Linked DNA regions of Homo sapiens: all the other regions are linked to region 1. The links are contacts of gene promoters, found by promoter capture Hi-C in blood cells and fetal thymus (Javierre and others, 2016). All regions are on one chromosome and are shown on one strand. The core of a region is centred on a gene start or on the middle of the fragment in contact, and the rest is flanking DNA. Distances in the headings are between cores, read along the strand shown.

The links. The method cuts DNA at HindIII sites, captures the fragments that hold promoters and counts their contacts. A CHiCAGO score of 5 or more calls a contact.
Region 2: a contact is called between a fragment that was not itself captured here and the fragment with the promoter of OR5A2 in region 1, in 2 of 17 cell types (total B cells and naive B cells). The highest score is 8.6, in total B cells.
Region 3: a fragment that was not itself captured here is called in contact with the fragment with the promoter of OR5A2 in region 1 in 1 of 17 cell types (naive B cells); the score reaches 5.9 in naive B cells.

What each region holds. Positions count from the first base shown.
Region 1 is chr11:59,424,154-59,429,222 of GRCh38, forward strand. It overlaps OR5A2 (olfactory receptor family 5 subfamily A member 2), which reads right to left and starts at 2,260. Exons shown (of 2, transcript NM_001001954.2): 1 at 2,018-2,260. The HindIII fragment of the contact is 12,260 bases long and covers 1-5,069 here.
Region 2 is chr11:58,639,761-58,644,829 of GRCh38, forward strand. No RefSeq gene overlaps it. Among named protein-coding and RNA genes, the nearest start is that of CNTF, 20 kb to the left of the region's middle. The HindIII fragment of the contact is 4,055 bases long and covers 184-4,238 here.
Region 3 is chr11:58,670,308-58,675,376 of GRCh38, forward strand. No RefSeq gene overlaps it. Among named protein-coding and RNA genes, the nearest start is that of CNTF, 50 kb to the left of the region's middle. The HindIII fragment of the contact is 2,212 bases long and covers 810-3,021 here.

The DNA.
Region 1 (5,069 bases), core at 1,010-3,509:
CAGCACTTTGGGAGGTGGAGGCAGCCCAATTGCTTGAGCTCAAGAATTTGAGAACAGCCTGGAAAATATGGCAAAACCCTGTCTCTACTAAAAATACAAAAATTAGCTGGGCATGGTGGCATGTGCCTGTAGTTCCAGTTACTGGGGAGGCTGAGGCAGGAGAATCGCTTGAACCCATGAGGCGGAGGTTGCAGTGAGCTGAGATCGCATGCCACTGCACTCCAACCTGGTGACCGAGCGAGACTCCGTCTCAAAAAATAATAACAATAATAATAATACAAAACTTAGCAGGGTGTGGTGGCACATGCCTGTAGTTCCAGCTACTTGGAAGGCTGAGGTGAGGGGGATCACTTGAGCCCAGGAGGTCTAGGCTGCAGTGAGCCATGACCATGACTGTGCCACTGCACTCAAGCCTGGATGACAGAGTGAGACCCTGTCTCAAAAAAAAAAGGAAATTTTTTTTAAAAATTAGGAAATACAAATGCGTATAAAGAGGCAGAAATGCCCTGAGAAAGACTCAGTGGTGAAATTAAGGTTGCTGTATTTTATTATTTGTATGGAATTTGTTTGCCCATGCATGTTTGCACCCAATGGTAACTGTGGTTCTGTGTCACTTATCATATTAAAAACTGCTCCTAGCTTTGTGTTTTTTACAAATTTCTAATCTCCCCTCAAATCACTGGTCAAGCAGTCAAAACCAAGACGAGCCTAGATTGATCTTCACTAAAACATCAATCTATTTAATCCTATCAAAAAGGAAGTAAGAGGAATTTGGTATCTCTTATCTTGGTGAAATCTTCCCTACCAGAATGTAAGTTACTCAAAGACAGGCAGGGAGTTTTGCCCATTCTGTTTCCTGATCTATCCTTGTAACCACCCAATGGGTTCACCTTGCCCACTGCCTAGACAGAGCTCATTTATCAAGACAGGGGAATTGCAATGGAGAAAGAGTAATTCAGGCAGAGCTGGTTGTGCAGGAGGACTGGAGTTTTATTATTACTCAAATTAGTCTCCCTGAGCATCAGGGATCAGAGTTTTTAAAGATAATTTGGCGAGTAGGGGCTTGGGAAGTGGGGAATGCTGATTGGTTAGGCTGGAGATGGAATCAAATGGGTCGAAGTGAGTTTTTCTTGCTGTCTTCTGTTCCTGGGTGGGATGGCAGAACTGGTTGAGCCAGTTAACGGGTCTGGGTGGTGTCAGCTGATCCATCTAGTGCAGGGTCTGCAAAATATCTCAAGCACTGATCTTAGGTTTTACAGTAGTGATGTTATCCCCGGGGCCAATTTGGGAAGGTTTATACTCTTGGAGTCAGAGGCTGCATGACCCCTAAACAGTAATTTCTAATCTTGCAGCTAATTTGTTAGTCCTGCAAAGACAGACTGGTCCCTAGGCAAAAGGGGGGTCTCTTCAGGAAAGAGCTGCTATTAATTTTGTTTCAGAGTCAAACCATGAACTGAATTCCTTCCCAAAGTTACTTCAGCTTATGCCCAAGAATGGACAAAGACAGCTTAAAGATTAGAAGCAAGATGGAGTCAGGTAGATATGATTTCTTTGACTGTCATAATTTCCTCAGTTATAATTTTGCAAAGACAGTTTTATCATAAGTACAAAGAACAGGGCCTGGGACATAGGTGCCCACTAAATATTTTGCTGAATAAATAGATTTTTTTCCACCACTTATCCTCAGAGTTTACCAGAAGGGTTTGGCCTATGACTTACTATATTTGGTGTGTTACTATTATAAGAACAAAACACATAATATATAATTAATCACAAACAATAATCATATAACGATCATAATATAATAATATAATCAAACACTTATTTAGTACTTATTGTGTGCGAGGTACTGTTTGAAAGACTTGATTTTTATAAACCCATTTAATTCTCCTAATAGACTCAAGAAGTGGCAGCGTTTCTCGCCCCATTTTACAAATAAAAGGTAGAATAGGCTGTAAATGCATAGTTGTGATTTGCTGCTGAATGGATGAGGTAGGAGGGAATGAGCTGGACTTACTGGATTGCATTGGGCAGAAGGGTCCTGCAATCTTGTGCTACAAGAGAAGAAATATTGATTGCTTTGTTGCCATAACATCTTTTGCAAACCAGATCATCTGCATTTCCCACTGCTCCATGGCTGGTTTCTCGTTCCATCAATTTCTTATGCTTTGGCCTCATGTAAATAGTAAACCATGCTTCTGGAATCTCCGCTCCTTTGTTAACAAGTCTTCCAAATAAATGGGCTGTGGGAGTTCATTATTTTAATGGGCAGAGGTAGCCACATTCTTTCCCCAAGAGGCTGCCCTCTGCCACTCACTCCAGGGTCCAACATAAAAAGCCCAGCAATCATTAGAGCTAAACATTTCTGAGCACTAATTGTTCCCTGGAGTGGTGGCGAAAAGAGCCAACCGCTCATCACGGGAGCCTCTTTCCATCCCCCTACCTATTCTTCTCTGAGCTTTCCCTGATTTGAGTCCAGGAAGACTCCCTGCTGGGTTAGTAGATGCCTTTTGCTTAAAAGAAATTTCATCAGAAGTAAATCACACATAAACACACCAAGCCTTGTGCTGAAATATACTGGTTAGAAACACATGTTTCCAACTCTGAGAATTGGGTTTAAATTCTGGCTCTGCCCTTTTATCAATATAAACATGTTCAATGTTGTTTAATGTCTTAAACTTATCAACTCCCTCATTTGTAAAACTGGTGTAACAAGAATACCTACCTCAACAGAGTTGTGATAATTAAATAAGCTGTGAATAAGAAAGGCTTAGCACAGTGCCTAACAAACAGAAATCACTCAATGAATGTAAACTAATGATGTCATTAACTCTGTTTCTTGGGTCATGGCCAAAAATATGTCTTTCCTTTCTATCTTTTTATTGTGACTTATTTGCATCACGATGAAAAGATTTCTTTTCTCTTTATTTTTTTTAATGAGGCTGGATGGGATGAAGGGCTTGATGGGGCTCTTCTTTTCTCTTTTTAATATTTTGGGTGCTACTACCAGCAATGCCACTACCTGGATGAGTCACTGTGGGCAAGTCAATTAACCCCTCCAGCCTGAGTGAATTGGGCTCACTCTCCAAGAATTCCTCCAGCCCTGAAAGTCTGATGTTTCAAAACATTGATTTCCTGTTTTTTTAAATGTTTTCTTCAGAAATAAAGTTTATAAAAAATGAATTCATCTATTTCATGGAGACTAAGTCAGCAATCCTCAGTCTCAAAAGAAAAAAAATTAAATGAGAGAAATGTCTTCTATATAAAGGGGTATAATTACTGAGACTCTTGACTTACAAGGTAACAGGCTTAATTTAGGGAAGAAATTTAGCAACTAAGACTGTTGACAGAAACGGAGGTAAATGTCTTCAAGAATCAACTGTGAACATGAAAAGGCAAGGAAGTCCATCCTCAAAAGAAACATTCTTATCTAAGTTTGAAGATAAACTGTCCTAGGAAATTCTGATGCTGAAAGAGTAAACCCCAACTAACTATGAAAGAGTTTGATACTGAGTTAAGATCTGGGAAATTTAAAAGGTAGATCTCACAGTTATGAAGGATACATTTTTCTAGGATTAGAAAAGGCTGATAAGGGCCGGGCGCGGTGGCTCATGCCTGTAATCCCAGCACTTTGGGAGGCCGAGGCGGGCAGATCACGAGGTCAGGAAATTGAGACTATCCTAGTTAACACGGTGAAACCCCGTCTCTACTAAAAATACAAACAAAAAAAAAATTAGCCAGGCGTGGTGGCGGGCACCTGTAGTCCCAGCTACTCAGGAGGCTGAGGCAGGAGAATGGCATGAACCCGGGAGGCAGAGCTTGCAGTGAGCCGAGATCGCGCCACTGCACTCCAGCCTGGACGACAGAGAGAGACTCCGTCTCAAAAAAAAAAAGAAAAAGAAAAAGAAAAGGCTGATAAGATAGGGTAGTGATAGATTTCATCTGTCATGGCAACTCTGATTATAGTGATAATGACTATCTACAAAGTAAGATTGAGAATCTTAAGAATAAAGAGCAATAATTTCTTTTGCACCAGTTTGGATGGAGCTGGAGGCCATTATTCTACATGAAGTAACTCAGGAATGGAAAACCAAATACTGTATGTTCTCACTTATAAGTAGGAGCAAAGCTGTGAGAACACAGAGACATACAGAGTGATATGGACTTTGGGGCCTCAGGGGGAAGGGTGGAAGTGGGATGAGGAATAAAAGACTACATATTGGGTATAGTGTGCACTGTTTGAGTGACAGGTACGCTAAAATCTCAGAATTCATCACTAATAGAATTCATCCATGTAATCAAAAACCACTTGTACCCCTAAAGCTATTGAAATAAAAAAAGAACAAATTATAAATTAACAATGTCTGCATTGGACAGAAAAATGCAGAATGAGGACTCAGAATGTATTTATTAACCTAGTCTATAAGAAATCTGAGAATGAGGAAGAAAGTCATCCTATTAAATCCATCTGGATAAAACCATAAACTCTTCATGCCCTTACTTTAAAAAATCAAATTTGATCAAAATAGCAGAAGTTTCAGTGAACATCAGAAAGTAGCAAAGGAAATATGTTACGGGACAATATGAATATATTTAATATTACTCGTTTACACTTAAAAATAATTAAGATGATGTGATGGTGAATTTTAGGTGTCAACCGGACTGGATTAAGAGATATCCAGATAGCTGGTAAAGCACTATTTCTGGGTATGTCTGTAAGACAGAGGATGTTTTGAACCAGTGGACTGAGTAAGGAAGATCCACCCTCACTCAATGTTGATGGGCACCCTCCAATCAGTTGAGGGCCTGGAAAGAACAAAAAAGCAGTGGAAAAGTAAATTCCCCCTCTCTCCTCTGAAGTTGAGATATCTTTCTCTCTTCCTTTGACATCACATCTCCAGGGTCTCCTTTGGAGTCTGGGATTTGCATTAGTAGCCCCTTAATTTATCAGGTGCTTGGCCTCATGTTGAGAGTTACACCGTTGGCTTTCTTGGTTTGGAGGCCTTTGGACTTAGACTGAACCATGCTCAGGAAGTCAGGATTCTGTGATTGTTGAGCTTGCAGATGTC
Region 2 (5,069 bases), core at 961-3,460, 780 kb before region 1:
CTTTTCTCTCCACCCTGTATGGGGAGAGGCAGCACTGGCCAGAGGAATGGGTGCTTCTCAAGACCTGAATTGAAATCTGGGTTTTGTCATTTCATCAGCTGAGCCCTCCCACTCTCACGGCTTTCTTCCCTGAGTCCCACTTCCTTCATCTGTTACAGAATGAGAACAATAATAACCTCTTCAAGCTTGAGCTGTTGGATATAAAATGCCCAGCAGAGTGCCTGGCACAAAATAAGGTGTTCTTTTAGGGAAGTGGGTTAAATGGCTTGTTCAAGGTCTGGGTTTGCATCCAGGTTTGTCTGAATCCAAAGCCTAGTGCTCTTTCAATGTAATGCTTCTTTCCAATCTCTATGTTTGCATTCTTTTATTAAAAAGTGTGATTGATTTATCATAAGGGAACCTGGGACTGGATTATTTGCTGGAGAGATGGCTGTCTTCTGGGAAACAAATCTTTTTTCCCTCTTGTTTCTTCCCAGGACAGGGATAAGTAATCATGCTGCTCAGTCCCCTAGCCTCCTGACCTGGGAACAAGTGCTTCATGGCATTATAAATTCAAAGGAGTCTGGGAATTCAGCATGTTTGGTTATATCTCTTTCCCAGAACCTGGCACCAGTCTGTGGGCATTTCATAGCTGTAGATACAAGTGAAAATAATCATGCTTTGGCTGAATGGTGGTGAATCATTTGCTGACAAGGACAAGATACCAACAGGAGGAGGGCAAGGAAAACTCTCTGAGGATGTTTTGTTTTCAGCCCTGGGCAGCATTTGCTGAGCTGGGAGATTAGGAGGCATCATTTGGTGCCCAGTACTCACATCCCCCAATTGTTCAGAGGCAGTGTAAGGACGATGCAGGCAAGACAGTCTTCAGAGTCAGATGCCAAGTCCTCATGTGACCTTAGAAAAGAAGTGTGACTTCCTGTAAAACAGGAACAAACAGGACTTTTTAGCTGTTAACTTAAAAAAATTACAACACATGCTTGTTATGGAAAATTAAAAGTGTAAAGAGGTTATATAAGGTAAAAAATACCTTCTTCATCCAGCTGTGCTTCCCAGAGATAACCACTGTAAATAGGAGGTGTGTCACCTTCCAGACATGTTTCTATGTGTGCACACATGGACCCAGGCACATAGGCACATACTACTTTCTTTTACAAAAATATAATAGTGCCAGGCCATATATACTTTTGCCTATGGAGAAGCTGATTCCCAGAGAAAAGAAGTGATGTGCACAAGGTCACACAAAGACAGATTGGAGCAGAGATGGCCCTGACCCTGTGTCTCTTGCCTGTATTTCCAGACTCAGACCGCCTCCTACCCTGCCTCACTCTCTTGGGCTGTGTGCATTCTAATTGAGCACCATAGGGGATACAAATGCAGACAATTATTCTGGCAGATAGTCAAGGGCAATAGTCAAAATATTTACTACTCTGCAAGTTGCAGCCCCAGCCAATCAGAACTAACATTGGCTGCAAATGACCTTCCTGAGGTTACTGGCTAAATATTGGCCCTGCATGTAGGAGTCTCATTTCACACCCTACATATCTCTCCACGGATGGCTGGGAAGGAATCCATGAATGAATAAATGAGGATGCAAAGTGATCTGAAATAATATCGCAAAGGAAGAAAAACTTCTTTCAATAGAAGTGTAATGTTATCAACTGCAGTGTTATCTGCCTATATATTTTTACAATCAGAGCCCTGTGAAAGGAGAAGAGGCAATAATAGAAAATGAAGGAAATAGAAAGGAGATGTTTATTGGAGTTCAACAGAACTGGACTCGAGATATGGCTCTGCGCTTAGTGGCTCTCAGACCCTGGGCAAGTGACTTAATCTCCTTGACTTTTTTTTTTTTTTTCCTGTAAACATCTGTGAATGTGAGGAGGAGAGGCACAAAAAGTAACTTAACCATGATTATACTAATTAAGGGACAGATAGGCTGAGGGGTCTGAGGGACTTTTAGTCTAGTGGGCTTATAATTTAATGTCAGGGGTAGCCCAGGGATCCTGAATTTTGCCAACAGAAAAATCATGAGATCTATGCAGATTTGGACACAGGACTTTATTTCTCATAAAGGGTTATAGCCTGCCAATGGTCATCCTGACAGGCTGAGAAGTGTACCTTCAACAGAGACCGAAAGGCAGTACTTTGAAGAAGGAGGGGTTGAGGCAGGAGCTTTATGCTACATAGGTTGGCTAAATATACATATTCAACAGGTTACAGGAGAAGCTATGAATATTCACCAAGTGGTTTCTGATGCATGCATACTGAATAAACATGCATGCTACAAATGATCTATGTTCATATTGGAGAGGGTACTTAACATTTAAATTTATTACAATGAGGCTGTCTATATTTCAGAAGATAAAACAGGGACATAAATGTTCTCAAGTGCAAAGCCTCTATAAAACCGACCAGAACCAGTCCATAGTCGGTGGTCTTTTACCAGGAAAGTTACTGAAATCTCTTTCTTGTCTAATCAAAGCTGTAGTTATGGCTTGTGGAACAGGAGGTCGGTTAGTCAGCACATGGTGGTGAATGAGCTGCAGTTATTTTAATATTGCTTTCCTTGAGGCCAGTGCTTGTTGAGCTGCTTAAGAAAGAAAAACCTTGTGGCAGTTAAAACAAAGTTTATTCTTTAAGTGTAGGGGTGCGTGACTTAACCTTTGCCTGACATGGGCGTAGGTCCTGTTTATAATTGGATATCTTACTGCCACAAAGAGTCTGTTCTGTCAGTCATATGATCTCTATTTTAACATTCATGCTGGTCAGTTGGTGTGTCTGTATACAAAAGGGAGAGGATATAACGAGGCTTGTGTGATCTCTTGTCTCCTTATGGCCAGGAACTCCATTTTTAAGGTTTCTCTGAGGTCTCCTTGGCCAAGAGAGAGTCTGTTCAATTGGTTGGGGTGGGTGCTTAAGGTTTAAATTTTAGTTCTCAATCCCATATAGGGTCTTGAGACCTTTCTCATCCTCGATTCAATCTGAGGGCAATTCTGAGTTAAATCTCCAAATAACTTCTATTCTCTCCTTGTGCACCTCATCTCTACCCCAACATACACAGGAGAAGATCACCTGAACAATAAACTTGTAGGTTTAAAGAAACTACTAGGCACCTGGCAATCCCTTGCTTCCTGCAGTCTTCCTGTCTTTCTTGAGATACTTTTTCTTAAGGATTTCTCATGGGTCTGCCTCACTTGACAATGGATATATATACTCTCAGTATTTAGCGTGGAGAAGACCCAGACTCATGAAAGAGATGCAGAGAACTAGCAGGGAGAGACAGAGACAGAGACAGAGAAAAGCCATGACTAGCATCACTAAATTAACCATGTCCTCGAGACTCATAATTCATACCATCGTTATATGTTCTCTAGGTAATTTCTGCAACCTTCCAACAAGTATTCCCATCTCCTGAAGGACAGCTGGGATCATGGCAAACTCTGAGACAAAAACCTGCAGTGGCTCGTTGTTTATAGCATTGGCTCCCAATTAAGCCTGTTAAAAATAGAGGTTTTGGGTTTCAATGTATGGAACTTTAGAAGACGAGTTCTGAGAACTAAAACTATCTACGCCCTACAGAGCTTCTACATCAACGTGACATTACTATAACACTGTCTTCACTAGCATAACTTTACCATTCCAGTGACCGTTACATGGAAAAATGGCTCGATTATTCATTATAGGAATTTCCCAAAATATCCATCAACTCTTCAATGAAAAGTATCAACAGTTTTTACCTTTGAATCTCTTGCCTTGCCTTGCTTTTCCCACCAATCTTAAACTTCCATGTTGTGATTTTTGCCCTTTTCAAATCAAGACCTCCCCACTCTCTCCACGGAGGGAAGTGGCTTAAATGAAACTTAAATTCTCAATAAATTCTAACCTTGCTTTCTGAGATACTGCCAAATCTCTGCTGAAATGGTGTTTTCCCTATCTCATCAACAGTTTGTATTGATGATATTTGCGGAAATGGCATTTGACAGTCCCTAGAAAATTTTGTAGCACAGTTAGATTTGAGAATTCCTTGACAAAATTAAGTCCTAATTCTTGAGTTTAATGTTCAAGGTCGCCAGCAGTCTGACTGTTGCCTTGGTTTCAAATCAAATGTCCAATTAATCTCTTTTCCCTCTCTTTATTACACTTTATGCTTTCAAAACCTACACTATATTTATTTTTTGTTTTCTAATCTTATTTTTTACTGATGCTTTGTGTGTGTGATAACTTCATATATTCAAATAAGCTTTGAAGATCAAATTGGTGCAATTGGGATATCCATTACCTTAAACATTTATTTATGCTAGAAACATTTGAATTATTCTTTTCTCACTATTTTGAAATAAAGAATATATTATTGTATAGTCACCTCTCTGATGTATCAAGCACTGGGTCTTATTTCTTCTATCAAACTGTATATTTGTACCCATTAATCAACCTCTCTTCATTTTCCCTCCCTGCTTGTCTTCCCAACATCTGCTAAACACCAATCCACTCCCTATCATCATGAGATCCACTTTTTTTAGCTCCCACATATGAATAAGAATATGTGGTATTTATCTTTCTATGTTTGACTTATTTCACTTAACATAATGACCTCTAGTTCCATTCGTGTGGCTGCAAATGACAGAATTTTATTCTTTTTCATAGATGAATAATATTCCATTCTATATATATATATATATATATATATATATATATATATATATATATACCACATTTTCTTTATCCATTCATCCATTGATGGGAACTTAGGTTGATTCCATATTTTTGCTATTGTGAATAGCACGGATCTCTAGGGCAGGAGCAAAATGCTGCCAGTCTCTTTGCTAAAGCACAGCAAGAATCACCTTTGTTCCAATTCCCAGTAAGTTCCTCATTTCCATCTGAGACCGTCTCAGCCTGGACTTTGTTGTTTATATCACTATCAGCATTTTGGTCAAAATCATTCAACAAGCCTCTAGGAAGTTCCAAACTTTCCCACATCTTCCTATCTTCTTCTGAGCTCTCCAAACTGTTTCAATCTCTTCCTGTTACCCAGTTCCAAAGTTGCTTTCACATTTTTGGGTATCTTA
Region 3 (5,069 bases), core at 666-3,165, 750 kb before region 1:
CCATATCACAGGGAGGTGGACACCGCCCGCAATATGGGGAGTAATGTCACCCTCCTCTCCCCTGCTGGATATTATGAATCATATCACAGGGGGGTGGACATCCCCCACGATATGGGGAGTAGTATCACCCTCCTCTCTCCCCCACTGGATATTACGAACCATATCACAGGGGGTTAGACACCGCTCGCGATATGGGGAGTAATATCACCCCCCTGTCCCCCCTGGATATTATGAACCATATCACAGGCAGGTGGACATCCCCCGCGATATGGGGAGTAATATCACCTCCCTCTACCCCCTGGATATTACGAACCATATCACGGGGGGTTGGACACCCCCAGCGATATGGGGAGTAATATCACCCCCCTTCCCCTCTCTGCTTTTTGCAACCAGTCAGAGGTACTTTCAATTTCCAATTTGCAGTGCAGAAAATGTGGCGGTTTGCAAAGGGAGTAGCCTCTGGTGCTTTTGTTTCTTAGGTGTGGACAGGTAGGATTTTCCTTTCAATTTAGCTCTAGGAAGTCAGCGTGAAACGGCCTTAGGTTACCTACCTCCAGACCCTATTCTCCTGCCTCAAAAGGATGCAATATAAAATATTGCTACAAGCCAAGCTGCTGTTCGTGTGTGATGTCTGCACAAAGACTTTCCTACAGGTGTATACATTCAGGAAGTGTATCACCCGTGCACCCTAACTGAAAAATTGAGTAATGTTATGTTCCAGTGTAATGAGAAGTGAATCAAAATAAAGAAATCAAGAGTTGGTAAACTATTAAGGAGATAAATATTAAAACCAATAAAATAGAGAATTAAGCTTAATTTCGTGTTTCAAATATGATAAAATAGAATGAAAGACAAAAAGTAATTATTGACAAAAATGATACGTAAAAGTAAAATTTCAGGAATAATCTGGGTTCAAAAATCTCATACTGCAGTTATTGGAAAAAATGATTGACATTAAATTGGTCTAAACTTTGCTGGGTTTGTTATTTTACATGTGGGAGTGTGCATAGATACTCTTATTTTCTTTTGTTAATTAGAGAAATACAGCCATAAGCATATTGCTGAAAAATTAGCTAAGAATTAAAAATATAATGCTAAGCCCCCCACCCAACTGAATGGACCCCTTCTTGGCAAGGGGACCCCAGAGAAACCTTAAAAAAACTTGAGTTCCTGGCCATGACAGGGACAAGAGGTCAGGCACACCTCATTCTATGGGCTCCCTTTTCTGGTTTAGACACAATAACCATCAACATTTATGTTAAAATAGAGATCATAAGACTGACAAAACAAACTCTTTGTGGCAATTAGATACAAAATTATAAACAGGACCTAAGGACATATCAGGCAAAGGTGAAGTCAAGCACTCCTACACTTAAAGAATAAACTATGGGCCAGGCATAGTGGCTCATGCCTGTAATCCCAGCACTCTGGGAGGCCGAGGCAGGCAGATCACCTGAGGTCAGGAGTTCAACACCAGTCTGGCCAACATAGTGAAACCCCGTTTCTACTAAAAATACAAAAATTAGCTGGTTGTGGTGGCGGGCGCCTGTAATCCCAGCTACTGGGAAGCTGAGGCAGGAGAATTGCTCGAACTGGGGACGTAGAGGTTGCAGTGAGCCGAGATTGCGCCACTGCACTCCAGCCTGGGCAACAGAGTAAGACTCCGTCTTAAAAACAAAACAAAACAAAACAAAACAAAACAAAAACAAAAAACCAAACAAACAAAAATCTATGTTCTAACTGTCACAAGGTTTTTCCTTTTCTCTAGCAGCTGAACAAGCACTGGCCTCAAGATAAGCAATATGGAAACAATTGTAGCTCCTTCATGCCAGAAGCCGACAAACTGACCCTGCATAACCACAGCTTTGATTGAACAAGTGACTGATTTCCATAGCTTTTTTCTGATAAGACACCACTGACCCCGTAGGCTGGTTCTGGCTGGTCTTGCAGAGGCTGTGCATTTTAGCACCTTCCAGTCCCTGCTTCACCTTCTGAATAATAGGGCCTAATTGTAATAGATTTAAATGTTAAGTCTCCACCCCGAGGTGAACATGGGATGCATGTATCATGTACGTTTGCTTACCTTGTATGCATGCAACTCACTTTCGTTAATATTTATAGCTCCCCCTGTATCCTGTTGAATATGTATACTCGGCCTACCCAGTCAGCATTGATTCCTGTCTTATCCCTCTCTCCCTGGAAGTGCTTGCTTTTGGTATTTCAGCCAGAGGCTGTGCTCCCTGCCTGCAGGTTGTAAATTCCTTAAGAAATAAAGCTCTCCTTTCTAAGTTTCTAAACTTGTGATTTTTAAGCTAACAGTGCTAATTAAATTCAAAACAAAATTTGTGACTTCCAAATTACTTAAAAAACAAAAAAATCTAGTGGGAGGATTGCATTGGGTTTTCTTCTCTTCACCTCCCGCCATGGCTAAGATTTTTCCTTCCTTAGACTTTCTCTGTATAATTAAACTCTGGTCATCAGTAGCCCACTGAGCCCCTCTTCATCTAAAGCATAACTTTTAAATGCTTTTGTGCAGTGGGCCGCTTGACAGTCTGGGGAGGCCTATTACCCCATTCTCAGGATCACGAGTCATGAATGGGGGAAATAAAACACAAGGAATATGAAGGAAACAAAATTATATTGACATATAGTTATCTGAATATCTTAAATTAATTACATCATATCTAGCTGCATCTAGCTGCAAAGTCTCATATTTAATGAGTTCATTATACAATCATAAATTAAATACTTTCAATATTATAAGAGTAAATGGTAGTTCAGTTATTCTCAGCTATAATCAGATATGAAATTTTCTCACTACCATCTTGATGAAGTCAGGGATAATGGAAATCTCTGGTAGTTTGGTACATACATTTATAATTGAAGAAAATCCTAAATTATGGTTGGAAGTTAATAAAAATAAAGATACGATTTTTCTTCTCTTCAACTTTAGAGAGCCCTTGAATTTAAACGAATGCCCAGGCAGTCTGTGGACACAGATGAAATGTCCTTGATCTAAAAAGCTTCATTTCTCTTCAGCGAAAGTTCTCCCCATGAAAACAGGGCTTCTAAAACTGCCTTCCCTCAAAGGCTGTACAAACATGCATTCCTGGCAATAACCTAGAGGAGTGCCCATTTCTCCATACTCTCCTTTATAGCAGATGCCCTCAAATGTATTCACACTTTACCAATCTAAAAAGAGAGAAAAAAAAGGTAATTGCATTGTAGTTTTATTTTGCTTTTTCATAATTTCAAGATTTTCATTCAGCTTTGGTTTCTAATTTCTTTTTAATTACAGATTTTTTTTTTTTTAGATGGAGTCTAGCTCTGTTGCCCAGGCTGGAGTGCAGTGGCACAATCTTGGCTCACTGCAACCTCTACCTTCCGGGTTCAAGCGATTTTCTTGCCTTAGCTTCCTGAGTACCTGGGATCACAGGAGTGCACCACCATGCCCAGCTAAATTTTGTATTTTTTAGTAGAGACAGGGTTTCACCACATTGGCCAGCTGGTCTCAAACTCCTGACCTCAAGTGATCCACCCACCTTAGCCTCCCAAAGTGTTGGGATTACGTCCATGAGCCACTGCACCTGGCCAGAAAATCTTTATATAACATGCATATTATAGAAAGTTCCCACATTCCCTAGGTAACTGTCATATCTGCAAAATATATAAATTGTATAGAAAAATTTAAAAAATTCATGAAACTAAAATAATTTTACTTTTCACTGCATTTTGACTAATTCATTTCTTCACTTAATAAATATTGAGTAATTATATACCGGAAACCTTAGTAGGCACAAGATGGGAATAGTGACCCCAAACTATAATTTTCAGGCACTTTCCCCTCCCCACTTGAGTAATTCAGTATCAAAAACCTCATTATCATTCTCTGTGTGTTTGCAATCCTTGCAAAGGGAGGGTTGCATGTATGCATGATAAGCACACATTCATGATACACGTGTCCCACGTTCACCTTGGGGTGGAGACTTAACATTTAAATCTATTACAATTAGAGATGCCTGTGGAACAAGGAAGTCACCTTTAAGGAATGGACTTGGTTTTTGTTGCAGTGCCCACTTTGAGAACTCTTCCTTGAACAGGTTGGACCTCCCACTTGTCATTCTCTCATTCACAAGTGTTCTGGCCACAGTGTCCTGAGGTCACAGTTTCCCAGTAGTTGAGTTTTAATAAAAAGCAACACTTATTAGCTAAGTTAAAATATACCCCAACAGAAGACGAGATGGACTCCCTGTAGCTAAAATGAGATAAACCCAAAAAATTTCATAGCTAGGAGGATGAGGGATCTGTAACACATCCCGGTGTTATTAATTGCCATAGGTTTTTTTTCCCGGTAATTACGCAGAAACTATCACCTGAAAAGCATTGCCAAAAAACACTACAGTTGGAAGATTTCCCAGCTGACCCTGACAGAGTGCCGGTTGCCAGCCTACTGAGACAGCCAAGTAAAAAGGGTTCCCCGGCAGGACTTCCGACTGGCCTGCGCACTGGGAGGAGTGCGCACTCGGGTGAAGCCTTGAGGAATTTCCTGTTGGTTTGCAGTGAGGAGGAGCCTGGCTTCTCCTGTTCCGGGTGGTAACCCGGTGATTCCAGTCTATGAGGTGGGAAGCCCACTGGCAGGACTCTCGCTTTGCTGAGAGTCCCTGTTTCCCCATTTTTCCTTTTCACCCAATAAACCCTGTCCTTCTCACCCTGCAGAGTGTCCGCAAGCCTAACTTTTCATGGTTGTGCGAGAAGAACCTGGCTTTTAGCCGAACTAAGGAGAAAGTCCTACAACACTACAACACTCTTCCCTACCTTGCCTGGCTCCGTCCTCTACCATGCTGTCCTGCCATAAGTCAGATTGGACAGAGGACGGGTCTTATAAACATTCCTTATTGATCAATAGCTGCAGACCTTAAGCCAGTTTCAGTCAGCTTGTGGACATTGTTCAAAAATTGTCTGTATGTCCTGTAGTTTACCTTTTGATGTAAAGGGCCGAATTCCACTTCATTTTAATGTTAAATCCTACCAAAATGTGAATATGGGATGTATGTTCCATATATGTTTTC